Regions from separate parts of the Homo sapiens genome. Here region 1 is linked to region 2. The links are contacts of gene promoters, found by promoter capture Hi-C in blood cells and fetal thymus (Javierre and others, 2016). All regions are on one chromosome and are shown on one strand. Each heading gives the region's core, a stretch centred on a gene start or on the middle of the fragment in contact. The rest is flanking DNA. Distances are from core to core; before and after follow the strand shown. Region 1 overlaps ASZ1 (ankyrin repeat, SAM and basic leucine zipper domain containing 1). Region 2 holds the start of ST7 (suppression of tumorigenicity 7).

What was found. Contacts are between HindIII fragments. The CHiCAGO score rates a contact against its expected background, and 5 or more counts as called.
Region 1: a fragment that was not itself captured here is called in contact with the fragment with the promoter of ST7 in region 2 in 1 of 17 cell types (endothelial precursors); the score reaches 5.7 in endothelial precursors.

What each region holds. Positions count from the first base shown.
Region 1 is chr7:117,383,577-117,390,663 of GRCh38, forward strand. It overlaps ASZ1 (ankyrin repeat, SAM and basic leucine zipper domain containing 1), which reads right to left. Exons shown (of 13, transcript NM_130768.3): 5 at 2,122-2,233; 6 at 1,150-1,284. Among named protein-coding and RNA genes, the nearest start is that of ASZ1, 40 kb to the right of the region's middle. The HindIII fragment of the contact is 1,775 bases long and covers 575-2,349 here.
Region 2 is chr7:116,949,217-116,956,124 of GRCh38, forward strand. It overlaps ST7 (suppression of tumorigenicity 7), which reads left to right and starts at 4,285. Exons shown (of 16, transcript NM_001369598.1): 1 at 4,285-4,475. The coding sequence starts at 4,325. ST7-AS1 (ST7 antisense RNA 1) reads right to left here and starts at 5,118. Exons shown (of 1, transcript NR_002330.1): 1 at 3,230-5,118. It overlaps ST7-OT4 (ST7 overlapping transcript 4), which reads left to right and starts at 4,632. Exons shown (of 5, transcript NR_002329.2): 1 at 4,632-4,893; 2 at 5,245-5,463; 3 at 5,758-5,937. RefSeq lists a cis regulatory region at 842-1,167, enhancers at 3,831-3,940, 4,356-5,279 and silencers at 4,201-4,270, 4,481-4,680, 4,741-5,040, 6,638-6,897. The HindIII fragment of the contact is 11,677 bases long and covers 1-6,908 here.

The DNA.
Region 1 (7,087 bases), core at 212-2,711, 430 kb after region 2:
TAAATGTATACAAATCCTAACTGAACACCTCAAAAAGATATGGTGAAATTCCTGAGTTTTAAAATCTAACCTCTCAGGAAGTCAAGGTTATATCACATACTCAGCCAAAATACAAGATCAAATCTCATTTCAATAAATGATTTATGACTCAAAATAACCTTTGATGTTCATAAACTTCTTATGTCAAGTTTGGTGTCATCTACTCTACATTTAACAATGTAATAAAATAATTTTAAGTTTTTGAATTTTCAAAGTTTGGAAGAAAAATGGTAAATTCCTTTTTGAAATTCTACAGGGCTGTAGTGATTACTGTTTATCCTATAAAAATTCTGAAAATATTAGAATAATATTTGGAAAATGATAGCCATGTTTATCAGATTGCTTAAAAGGTTAGAGGAAGTTACTTTATATGCAGTAAAAGTGGCTTGGTTTGATGATTACATGACGGAATCTTTGGAATTTTACGTGCTTTCAAATTCGGGAACTCAGTGTTACAAACTCTTGAACTAAACAACTTAGTTTTATAATTGTACTATACTTGATCCTTGCTTAGAAGTTACAGACTTGTGGCTAAAGCTTTAATCTTCAGACCAAAAGTTTATATTGATAAAGTAATTTAATGTATGGCAAGTATTTATTATTGAGTTTAACATCTGAATGACAGATTATACATCCAGGTATATTATCACTTTATCGTAAGCCCTGTCACACATATAAGAGCAAATGTTGTTTAAGGAATTTAATTTTTAAATTGTTTAATACATTAATTAAACTTACAAAAGAATGTTTGAGTTACATGTTCAAACTGGCATTTTACTAGCTTTCACTAAATTACTTTTAAAATTCTGGACCAGTTTAAAATGTTTAAATAGTATATTACAATTTTATTCCTGGGGCCAGAATAAGATTTTATTACTCTTTTATAGAGCTTTTAAATTACTATAAGTGCTTCTTGTTTCATAGAAGATGAATACTCTAGCAAAATAAAGTTCTCATTACCTGGCTGGAGGAAAGATACATATTTAAACATTTAATAATTGCCAGATACACTATAATTACACTTTTAATTCTAACAGAATAATACAAAAGTTCTACAAATGATAATGTGATATGCCACAGAAAATAAGTTTAATATGTACAGAAGGATACCTCATGATGTTTGTTTCTTTTTGCAATCTCACTTGGCATCTTTCCATCTTTGGTTTGTAGCATTTTATTAGCTCCAAGTTCAAGCAACTTCAAAACTATATTTTTATGACCCTGACGTGCTGCCCACGTTAAAGCCTGTAAGTAGGGGGAAAAGAAGATTGTTTAAAGAGAAGGAGTGTATATGAGACAGACAGGAAAAGTTTTCAACAGTATTTATGACACAATAAAAAAGAGAACATAGTTAATTAATGGAATGATGCAATCTCTTCATTTTACAATATAATGTAAACATATTTCCAAAGTTGTAATTGCAAAGCTGACTGCAAAGCTCATTGATTTTTTAAAACCAGTGTTTTATACAATTAACTGATGTTAAGGAATAAAATGATTTATTTGCCAATCACTGAAGGGTTTTCTACAAAAAATAATTCTTATGTATATTTTAGAGCCCAGATTTTGCTGTGTGTTACAATTTTTTTTTTTAATCAAGAGTAAGGACTACGAGAGTCAGTTAATTCCTCATTTCTATTTCTTTTCTTTTCTTTTTTTTTGAGATGGAGTTTCGCTCTTGTTGCCCAGGCTGAAGTGCAGTGGTGCGATCTTGGCTCACTACAACCTCTGCCTCTTGGGTTCAAGCGATTCTCCTGCCTCAGCCTCCTGAGTAGCTGGGATTAAAGGCACGTGCCACCATGCCTGGCTAATTTTTTGTATTTTTAGTAGAGACAGGGTTTCACCATGTTGGCCAGGCTGGTCTCAAATTCCTAACCTCAAATGATCCGCCTGCCTCGGCCTCCCAAAGTGCAGGGATTACAGGTGTGAGTCACCATACCCTTCTATTTCAACTGTTGCTTTTTTTCACCAGATAGCAATTATATTCCAGCCCTTTTGTAATTATTACTTCTTAAAATTCTTTTTTTGTAGATTACTGATAATAACAGAAACAAAAAGAAACATTGTAAAAATGTTTCTCACAGTGTAACCATTCTCATCCTGGGTATTAACTTCTGCTCCATGAGCAACAAGGAGAGCAACAACCTGGGTGTGACCATCTCGAGCAGCATACATGATTGGGGTCATAAGTCTCCTAAGGAGGAGGAAGAAAGGAAACATTTGTGTTAATGCTGCCATTAATCTCTCATTTTCATTAATTTAACCATACACAATACCACCAGTACTGCTTTGAAAACGAAAAGAAATGAAAGCTTTTGCTAAATCAGGTGATTTAAAAATCCAACCTTCCTGCAAGTAAGTACAAGTGAAAGAGATGACACTTTTAAAGTGCTGAATGCTTACACAGCACCCTCTAGTGAATAAATGTATTAAAAATACATGAAATAAGCCACGCTTTCTACTATGAAGTTCACTAATATACATATTCATCTAGAAAATTATCAGTGTACCCACACTATGCTTATGCTAGGAATATAGTAATGAATGACACAAATAAGGTCCCTGCCCTCAAAGGATTTGCTAATACTAAATGCTTATTACATTTTATTTAGAGGATTGCTGAAACAAAAATGTAAATTTAAAAACTTCATTCCTTAATGTATTCTATTATGATTCTACTTTAGTCTGAGACTGAAAGAATTTTATTCTGACTGGGAGACTTACTATATATAATTAGAAAAGAGATAAGTCCAATAGATTAACCAGCTTAATATTCTCTTAAGAGTACTTTCTGGGAGAGGATAGTGGTTTCTCTGTAGTTTATCATTTCCCAAAATTAGAGATTCAATCCTTCTACTCCTGGAAGTTAGTCACCTTCTGGGCCTATTCCAAGGACACCAGATTTTATCAGCTCTACTTGGGCTGAACATAACATCATGGTCTGTTTTAAAGGAGGTCTGAGACTCTGAGCCCAATTTTCCTGAGTCGTCCTCAAGATCTGATTTATACACAAAGAACTTTGGAAAAGAAAAATAAATAATTTCAGAGTTCCATGTTTTGATCTTACCAAGAAAGTTTTTATTGGTTATTCACATTACATATACAACCTACCAATAGACTATTTCTCTGTAAGGTTTGTTAGCATAAGGTTATACCCTGAAATCTGAACACTTCACACCTATGTCCTTGTTAGCACAATTCATATATATCTGTTTCTTATATTTCATGGTATATTATAATTTGAATGTTTTATGTGAAATTATATGCTAAATCAGTTGTAAAAGATTGCCTCCTCTACCTTGAATATCCCTTACATAGTGGCTTCATTAGATAGACAATCTTTATGAGGTAAAGATTGAATTTCCTGGATAACTTAAGCAAACATAAAAAAATATATACAACTAGCCAGGTGTGGTGGCTCAGGCCTGTAATCTTACCACTTGGGGGGCTAAGGCAGGTGGATTGCTTGAATCCAGGAGTTCGAGACCAGCCTGGGCAACAGAGGAAAGCCCTGCCTCTACCTCTACTTAAAAAAAAAAAAAAAAAAAAATTAGCTGGATGTGGTCTGCACAACTGTAATCCCAGCTACTTCAGAGGTGGGAGAATCACCTGAGCCTGGGAGATCAAGGCTTCAGTGAGCCGAGATTGTGCCACTGCACTCCAGCCTAGGCAACCAGAGTGAGACCCTGTCTCAACAACAACAACAACAACAACAACAACAACAACAACAACGCCACCCAAAACCCCCACATACACACATACGTGGCAACAACAAATTATTTGAATTAACCATTCGAATTCAAATTCTTCATTACATCTAAATCCGAACTGTTGATGTCTCATCTCCACTGCACTTACCTGCATAATAACCCAAATCTGCTCCTCTCAGTCTTCCCTATTTCATAAAGCCACCATTAACCACATTACTCAGGCTTAAGACTAGGCATAATTCATGACTCTTCTCTGTCATTCCAAGTACAAGTCACCGGCAGCTCCTATTAGCCCTGCCTTCATAATCTGCTTCTGATCACTTTTCATCACCTCATTAGCCACTGCAGTGGTCCAAGACAACATCATCTTTCTCTGATTTATATTGCCATAGTCTCATAACTGCTCTCCTCCATGCTTCCATTCTTGGCCACTTACAGTTTATTGTCTTTGAAAATGCCAAGATCTCCCCTTTGCAGGAACTGTGCAAGTGCTCTTGCCTGTCCCCAGACCTTCATATTGCTAACTCCTTATTCTTATACAGATCCTTATTAAGAGAAGATCAGTAAAATTTTCAAACCTCTAGCTAGACTGATTAAGCAAAACAGAGAGAAGAAACAAGTTACCAGTATCAAGAACAAGAGAAGTAACATCAGTACAGATTATCCAGATTTTAGAAGTATGAGGAAGTATTATGAACAAATTTATGCCAATAAATTAGACAGTTTAGATGAAATGGATAAATTTCTCAAAATACACAAGCTACCACAGCTCACTCAAAAAGAAATAACCTGAATAGCCCTAGACTTATTTTTTAAAAACTTAATTAGTAATTATAAATTAAATTAAATTTTCCACAAAGAAAACAGCAGGCCAGATGGCTCCACTGGTGAATTCTACAAAACAGTTAATGAAAACAACATCAATTCTAAACAAACTCAACCAGTAAACTAAAGAGGGGAAGATGCTTCCCAACTCATTCTATGAAGCAAAATTACTCTTATACCAAAACCAGAGGGTGCCATTATAAGGAAAGAAAACTATAAACCAATAATCTTCACTGAAAATAAAAATGTTTTAAACAAATTTTAACAGAATCCAAAAATACATAAAAAGGTTAATACATCATGACTACAGGCAATTATCCTAGGAATGCAAGGCTGGTTTGATATTTGAAACATCAATCAATATAATGTACCATATTAACAAACTAAAAATGAAAAAAAACCCTCAACAAATGCAGAACAAGTATTTTACAAAATCCAACATTTATTTCTAACAAAAACACTCAGCAACATAGGAATAGATGAGAACTTCCTCAACCTGACAAAAGCATCTATGGAAAATTTACAGTTAACATCATATTTAATGGTGAAAGAGTACTTTCCCCCAACATCAGAAACAAGACAAGGATGTATGCTCTCACATTTCTACCCAACATTGTATTGGAAGTTCTAGCCAGCGGAACAAGACAAGGAAAAAGAAAAATGGTAGGCCTCCAGATGGGAAAAAAAGCAAAATTGTCTTTATTCACAGACAGCATGATGTATATAGAAAACCTGATGGACTCCACAAAAAAAGTACTAGAACTAATGAATTTGGCAAGGTTACAGCATTCAAGAGAAATATTTAAAAAATCAATTGTATTTCTTCATGCTAGCAATGAACAACATGAAATGAAAATAAAACAATACAACTTAAGTAAAAATATAAAAGCCAGGAAATCTATTGCTGTTTATTAGAAATGCACCTAGTATTTGCATATATGCATATATAAATACAGGGTGATGGTGATGTATTTGAATATATCTGACTTACAGTTGTCTAAGTAACAATTTGGATCCAGAAGTCTTTTTTTTTTTTAAGATTCAGGAGGTACACGTTAAGGTTGGTTAATGGGTATATTGTGTGTTGCTGAGGATGAGGTTTGGTCTTCTATTAATCCCACCACCCAAGTAGTGAATATAGTACCTAATAGGTAGTTTTTCAACCCTTGACCCCTCCTTGCCTCCTCCCCTTTGGATTCTCTAGTGTCTATTTTTAACTGAGCATCCCAGCCTCAAAATGCATTTTAAAACTTTTTTTCCTTTCTTGTTTTCAGCTTTGAAACATATTTTGAAATGCTTTGTTTCTACTTTTCCCACCAGGCACTTCAATGAACAGTGCTTGCTTATCTAATTATGTGCTTGCTTAGGTAATCCAGGGGCCAATTTTGAAACAAACCAGGCAGAGAGATACAGCTCCCACTTAGGGGTAGTTATGAACAGTTAACCTACCACTACCAGGCCAAAGTCAGGATGAGGCAAACCAGACCTTCTGGACAGGCAATTTCTCAAGATAACCATTGAAACAAGTCATGCAGACCTGCACCCTCGGGCAACACTCCTGCATATTTCCCACACCTTTTCCTTCTTAAACCCCTTCATTTAGCCCAAAAAGTTGGAATGGTCTTTTGAAGGCATGAGCCTGGCCATTCTCCAATTGCTAGCATTTGATAAATAAAATTACTTTCCTTTCACCACATCTCGTTTCTCCTATTCTTGGTTTATGGGCAGCCAGCAGCTGGACTTGAGCAAGTTACCTATTGTTTTCATCTTTATATGCATGTGTACCCAATGGGTAGCTCTGACGGATAAGTGAGAACATGTGGCATTTGGTTTCCTTTTTTCTTTTTTCTATTTCTACATTAATTCATTTAGGATAATGGCCTCCAGCTGCATGCGTGCTGCTGCAAAGGACATGGTTTCTTTTTTATGGCTGTATAGTATTCCATGACCTATATGTGGCATATTTTCTTTATCCACTCTTGAGTTGATGGGCACATAGGTTGGTTCTATATCTTTGTAACAGTGGGGGTTTTTTTTTTGAGACAGGGTTGTACTGTCACACAGGCTGTAGTGCAGTGGTACAATCATGGCTCACCGCAGCCTCAACCTCCCAAGCCCAAGCAATTCTTCCACCTTAGCCTCCCAGGTAGCTGAGACCACAGGCATGTGTCACCACACCTGACTAAATTTTTTATTTTTGTAGAGATGGAGTCTCTGTATGTTGTCCAGGCTGGTCTCAAACTCTTGGCCTCTAGCGAGCCTCCCAGCTAGGCCTCCCAAAGGGCTGGGATTATGGGCATGAGCCACCATGCCCAGCTGCTATTGTGAATGGTGCTGTGATAAACATAATGAGTGCAGTGTCTTTTTGGTAGAATGGTTTATTTTCCTTTGGGTATATACTCAGTAATGGGATGGCTGGGTCAAATGGTAATTCTAGTTTTAGTTCTTTGAGAAATCTCCAAACTGTTTTCCACAGTGGTTTAACTAATTTACCTTCTGCCAGCAGTGTACGT
Region 2 (6,908 bases), core at 3,035-5,534:
GGGAAGTGGAGCACAGAGAAGTGTATTACAGGCAGGTTGTGTGGAGCAGGTCCAAAAGTGTGAAAGAGAATAGCATGTTTGCCAAAATGCTGGTGCTATTAAGGTAGGCAGAAGTGCCCTTGCAGAAGGCCTGAATACCATCTAGATTCCATCCTTTAGTTAGACACTGGGATAAAAGTAGGAGTGCAGTAGGGGTGGGGCCTTAAATAATTTTATGCAAGGAACGAGTTATCGGATTTGTGCTTTAAAAGGTAACTGGTAGAGAAGTGTGGAAAGTGGATGGAAGGAGGCAGTGGTGGTGCTTGCCGTGGTGCAAATAGAGGCAGGGAGCCCACTGCCTTGTTCTCTATGAATGATGATCAGGCTATCACCAAAGGCTGAGAGAAGTGGCGGCCTGAGTCTTGATGTACAGTGGAATATAGAGAGGAAAGGAGGTACATGATGCTCAGATTTCTGAATTAGGGAACTGGAAGGATGGTGCCCATTCCTTGATGGAACTCTAAAAGGAACAGATGAGGGTGAAGAGGTAATGCATTCCATTCTGCATGTGATGAGCTTGGTGATTGTGTGCCATTCCACTGGGTGATTATCAAGAGGTAGTTAGGCATATCTGGGGTGTCATTATTTCATTAACGGTCCCACTCAAGAGCCCCCCCCTTATCCGTGCTCTGCCTGTTTTTTTTTGTGTGTGTGTGTGAGGCAGAATCTCACTGCTACACCCAGGCTGGAGTGCAATGGTGCAATATCGGCTCACTGCAACCTCCACCTCCTAGGTTCAAGCAGTTCTCCTACCCCAGCCTCCCGAGTAGCTGGGACTACAGGTGCGTGCCACCATGCCCGGCTGATTTTTGTATTTTTAGTAGAGACAGGGTTTCACCATATTGGCCAGGCTGGTCTCAAACTCCTGACCTCAAGTGATCTGCCTGCCTCAGCCTCCCAAGGAGTGCTGGGATTACAGGCGTGAGTCACTGCGCCAGGCCTGCCCTGCCTGTCTTATCAGTCACCAAGGCCTGTCACTTCTGCCTCCCCTCCCTTCCTTCCTCCCTTCCTTCTCTCCTTCCTTCACTCCTTCCTTCCCTTTATTTTTCTCTCTCTGCCTCTTTCTTCCCTTCTTCCCCTTCTCCCCGCCTCCCTCCCTCCTTCCCTTCCCCCTCTCCCTCTTTCTTTCTTTCTTCCTTCCTTTTCTCTTTCTTCTTTCTTTCTCTCCCTTTCTTTCTTTCTTTCCCCTTCCTTTCTCTCCCCTTCCCCTTTTTCTCTTCCTCCTTCTTTCCTTTCTTTTTCTTCTTTCTCTCTCTCCTTCCTTCTTTCTTCTTTCTTCCTTTCTTTTCTTTCTCTATCTTTCCTTTCTCTCGCTCCCCTTCCCTTCCCCTTTTCCTTCCTTCCTTCCTTCCTTCCTTCCTTCCTTCCTTCCTTCCTCCCTCCTCCCTCCTCCCTCCCTCCCTTCCTTCCTCTCTCTTTCTCTCTTTCTTTCGACAAGGTCTCACCCTGGAGTGACTGGCACAATAACAGCTCACTAAAGCCTCAAACTCTCAGGCTCCAGTGATCCTCCAACCTCAGCCTCCTGAGTAGCTGGTAGTACAGGCACACACCACCACACCCAGCTAATTTTTAAAATCTTTTTGTACAGACAAGGTCTCCTTGTGTTGCCTGTGCTGTTCTCAAACTCCTAGACTCAAGTGATTCTCCCACCTCGGCCTCCCAAAGTTTTGGGATTACAGGCGTGAGCCATCTACTTCCTTAATATTTCTTAAATCTCCACTTAAATAAATCTCTGAGTTGGTCATTTGGATTGGTGTGTGCAATGCCCCATAACTATGAACACCTTAGCGTTTCTAGTAGGCCCTTCAAAATGACTCAGGCCTGTATCTTTAGCTTTGTCTGTATCCACACCACTCTGCAGAGGCTGCACTCCAGCTATACTGAAGCAGCCACAGTTTGCAAGAGATTATGCTTACTCACTTCTGTTTTGAAGTGTTTTGAAGCACAAAGGCATGTGTACAGTCCCCACCACATGCCAGGATGCACACCAGGAGAGGCAATGATATAGGGCTGACTTCCCAGGAGCGCCTAGTAGAAAATTAGAAGATTGTGACTTAGCGGAGTCATATTCATGTCCATTCATTGAAGTTCATTGACAGCAAAAAGCCAGGCCTCCGGATGTTCATTTAAATTAAGTAGTCAATATCCTAATTCAGTGACTCGCAGAGAATCTGGTGGGTTATTTAATCATCACATAAAATAGGTGGTTCATGTACTCATGTTGAGGCAGGAGACTAGGTTCTGGAGGCAGGGAAACTAAGGACTTCCTTGAACTACATTGAAAGGAAAACCCTAACTTTCCACGCCTAAGTAACAAAAGGACCAGAGGCTACCTTTGACCTTTTCTGCCTAGTAGATGGGAAATTGGCTGTCTGTAACCAATCAGACTGACTGCGGGTCCAATCTTCATTTGCAACTTTGTAACTTCACTCCAGCCTCTGAATGGTTGTTGTCCACAACTAATCAGACTGTGGGCGAGTCTTCGTTTGCATAGAAGCATAACTTCATTAAGTACATCCCAGCCTCTGATTGGTTGTTTTTTGCAACCAATCAGATGTTTGCACAGGAGTGTTACCTTTGTATCTTCATTTCAGCCTCTGGTTGGCTGCTTTCTGCAACCAGTCAGACTGATTGCGGGCTACCACTTCATTTACGTGAGATGAGCATGAGTTGCCAAAGGGAAACTTCTTGGGGGTATTTGGACCCAAGAAGATTCTGTATTCGGCCTTTGAGCCGCTGCTCCGCCCGCTCCCACAATGTAGAGTGTACTTTCGTTTTCAATAAATCCCTGCTTTCGTTCTTTTGTCGCTTCTCTGGGTGTTTTGTCCAATTCTTTGTTCAAAACGCCAAGAACCTGGACAACCTGCAGTCACGATCCTTTACTGGTGACAATATTGTTTTATTTTACTGAGATTCCATGTATCAGTGTTAGACACAAAAATCATTTGGTCATGTGCTGCCATAAATAACTATAAAGAAAGTCTATGTGTGCCAATTTCACTTATTCTGGCCTGGATCTCACTGTAGTAGATCAAATGTGAGGAAGAAACAGTAGCCGAGAGAGGCTGGAATTAGTAAAAATTTAAGAGTAGTTCCATCCATTATGTATGCCGTAATAGGCCCTATATGTGAAAAGTTAAAGGAGCTTATTTAATTATGAAGGAAACTATTATACAAGTAAGCAAAACAATTTATAATAAAATATTCTTTATGCTCAGAATTTTAAAAATAGATGTAGACTGGAAAACCTGCAATTTCCTCATTACCATCTAATACATAGAAAGTCAAATCACTTACGGACAGAAACAGACTTGAAAATTTCAGCTGAGAAAACATTTTAGAATAAAAGAAACATTTTATTCAGCACAGTCAAAACAAAACAAAAACAACAAAACAATGTTTAAAATGGACTTTCTGTTAGAGGTGGCCGTTTCACAGTCAAAATTATCCCAGAGAATTGTTTATATTAAAAACAGGCTGAGAATAGTTTGACCTCTGATCACCAAAAAACCTGGAGGATAAACATTCATCTGTCAAGATTTCTCTGGAAAATCCCTGCGCTGCTTCAAAGAGACAGAACAAAGGTAAATAGCATCTGCCACCCAAATCTTGCTGAATAGAGTGATTTATCTTCAGGCCTACTAGCCGGCGACAGGAGCGCACCTCCTCCCTTCTCCTAGCTGTCCCGGGTTTATTCATTCCCTGAGCCTGAATCCTGATAAGGGAGCAGAGTAGGGTTTAAGACCTCGGACCCCAGAATACACCACTGCAATTGAATTTTGGTTCCACCTTAAGGTAAACTACGCAGCTGCTGTGAGCCTCAGTTTCCCTACCTATAGAAAGAGGATCGTAGTGGGGAATTGTTGCAGGGGTTAAATGAGATTGTACGGATCGTGGAGCAGCGCCTGGCGTGTGGTAAACGCTCAACTTATGCGGGTTGTAACTGCCTGAGGCGTTTCCTTCGGCGCGCCACTTGGCCTTCTCTTTCTAAATATTAGCATAATAAATATAAATGGACCCAGAACGCGAGGGGGCAGGGGCCACGTGATCGCTCCACGAAAGCCACTTGTAGGGACCTTTAGAGAGTTAGCAATAAGGCTGGAGAAGGAAAAGCCGGCGCGCCCGCGGCCCGCGCGATTTCCCGCCGAGCCCGCGTCCCCGGCGGCGGGCGGGCTCCGGGGGCGCCCGGGCCGCGGCGGCGGCGGCGGCGCGAGCTGCGCCTCCGGGCCGGTGAATCATCCCGGCAGACACCAAGAGCCGCGGCAGCAGAGAGGAGCGCTGAAACATGGCTGAAGCGGCCACGGGCTTTCTGGAGCAGCTCAAGTCCTGCATAGTTTGGTCTTGGACGTATCTGTGGACCGTGTGGTTCTTCATCGTGCTATTCCTGGTCTACATCCTGCGGGTGCCTTTGAAAATCAACGACAACTTGAGCACAGGTAAGGCCTGGGAGCCGGGCCCGCGGCGCCCACCCCTCCCCCGCCCCGGAAAGTTAGTGCAACTCGCGCGGGGCCGCGGCCAGGCGCGCGCTCGGGGACGCGCCGGGGCCCGCGCACCGGAGGCCCGCGGCTACCCGCCAGCAACGCGGCGGCTTAGGCGGCGGGGCCGGGCAGCTGGGCGCGCGGGGGCGGCCGGTGGCCTTCACGGCCCCGCGGAGGAAGAGCTGCGCCGCGCACAGCCCGCAAGGCGGGCCGGGCCGGGCCGGCAGCCGCCCTGCTGCGTCGCTGGTGGTCGGGAGACGGAGAAGAACGGGTGTCGCGGGCGAAGGAGTTCCCAGGACACCCCCTCGGGTGTCTGCGCCGGAACTCCGAGGGTTCCCCGGAGTTAGACCGAGTCCTTCCTCACGCCCTCCCGGCTGTGGGTGCCAAGCGGCCGAAGTGTGGTCGGGGAGGCGCCCTCCCGCCCGGCCGCGGAGGCCCGAGGGCGGCTGCCGGAGGGTGCTCGGCGGCGAAGCCCCCTGACCCGGCCGGGCTGTCCGGGCGGCGCCCTCCGTGGCCCGGAGTTGCGTCTTGCCGGGCGTGGGGCTGTCTCTCTGGTTGGGTAGTGGGGAGAGGGGTTCCCGAAGGCACTCTTGGGAGTGTATGGATGACGTGTCAGGTCACCAAATGGATTGTCGAAGGGACCGGAGGGAAGAGGGGAGAGCTGGAATTTCTGAGGGTTTCGGTTGCAGTTTTCAGTGATCTTTGCTCGTCTCCCTTCCCTGTAAAGCTACATATGCTCAGCAAGTGCCGCGTGCCTCCCATCCTTGGTCGGTGGTAAATGCAGGAGGTAATTAACAGGATCTTCACAAACTTGGAGCCAGCCCACTGAGTCGTTAAAAAAACACCCGCAAAGAAAACACACGAGCCTTAACACTCCAGAGAGTTCCGAAACACAAAGTAAATTTCGAGCTAAGGGTTACAGTCCTTTAAATCTGGAAATTTCAAGGTAGAGTGTTTTTGTTTTTGTTTTAAATTTTAATTTCACAGTACTGGGAAATTCTTACAGTCCTGAAGATATATACATATGTACACATATATATCTTCCCTTGTTAATCTCCATACTCTGGGAGTGCAAGTCTGGAAATGCATTTTCCTCAGGTGTTTAGCTGCATTAAAACGCTTTTTAAAACGCTTGAGATAATGTACTCATTTTGTTAGGAAACTTGTACCTTTCAGATACTAACTTAAGTATTTTGATTACTAACTTGAACTCATGTTCATATTTACATTTGTTTTGTAGTATCCCTCGGGATCGTGTCCCTGGGAGGCGGATAGGATTCAGCACTCTAGAATTGTCTCACCATTTGAATAGGTGCTGCTCAGCCCTTTTGAGTCTGTCATCGGAAAGACCATGGCTTTCTCGCTTTTCATCTTTTTGGATGGCTGCTTGTCGCAATATTGTCTTCTTCGCTTTAGACAAGTATGTCTCCAGGATACCTTCTGGTCTCAAAGTTCTATACCTTTAAGAAGTTGTTTGAATATATGTTTTAATGGAATTACGTATTTGTTGGTAACAGTGTTAGTCTGTTTTGTGCTGCTGTAACAGAATACCACAGATTGGGTAATTTTTAAAGAACACATTTTATTTCTTGTAGTTCAGGAGTCAGGGAAGTCTTGAGATCAAGGGACTGGCATGTGGGGAGGTCCTTCTTGCTGTCATCCCTTGGTGGAAGGTGGAAGGGTAAGAGAACATGAGAAAACAAGAGGGGGCCCACTTTCACTTTTATAACAAACCTACTCCCTCAATAACAAAATTAATTCATTCTTGAAGGCAGAGCCTTCATGACCTAATTACCACTCACAGGTCCCACCTTTCAACACTTTTGCACTTGGGATTTTCAAACACACTAGTTTTTAAAATATTAATGTTTCTCCTTATTACACACTTAAAATTTTATTTCATGATATACATTTGTATATCACATTTTCATCAGGTTAAATAATTACCCATGTATATATGTGTAAGTGTCACATCCAGTGCTCTGTGCAGATCAGGCAAGAAGCAAAATATCTACTGGGAAAATGTGTACTTCTTAAGGAAGGGCATTGTTAGGTCTTCTAGCAATTTAAATCTAGCATTTCTCAGAGATGCCTTTGTTAATTTGTGTAGGGGCAGTTCTAAGAGATAGCGAAAATATGAAGATGAACGTGCCATCCGGGCTGTACCTTGCTAGACACATGATAGAAGACCTGATGATGCTGGACTTTTCAGTTTGGTTTCATGCTCATTTCAGTCATAAAGAAAGATAAAAGGGGAAGCACACAGAGAGCACTCACCTCTCTGCTGTTTTTATGAGAGGGTAGCAGGATCTGGGGTGGGAGGAGGACTTTGGCATTAATTTTGAGACATGAAATTATAGCCACAAACCACCCTAGAACAGTTTAGGTTTT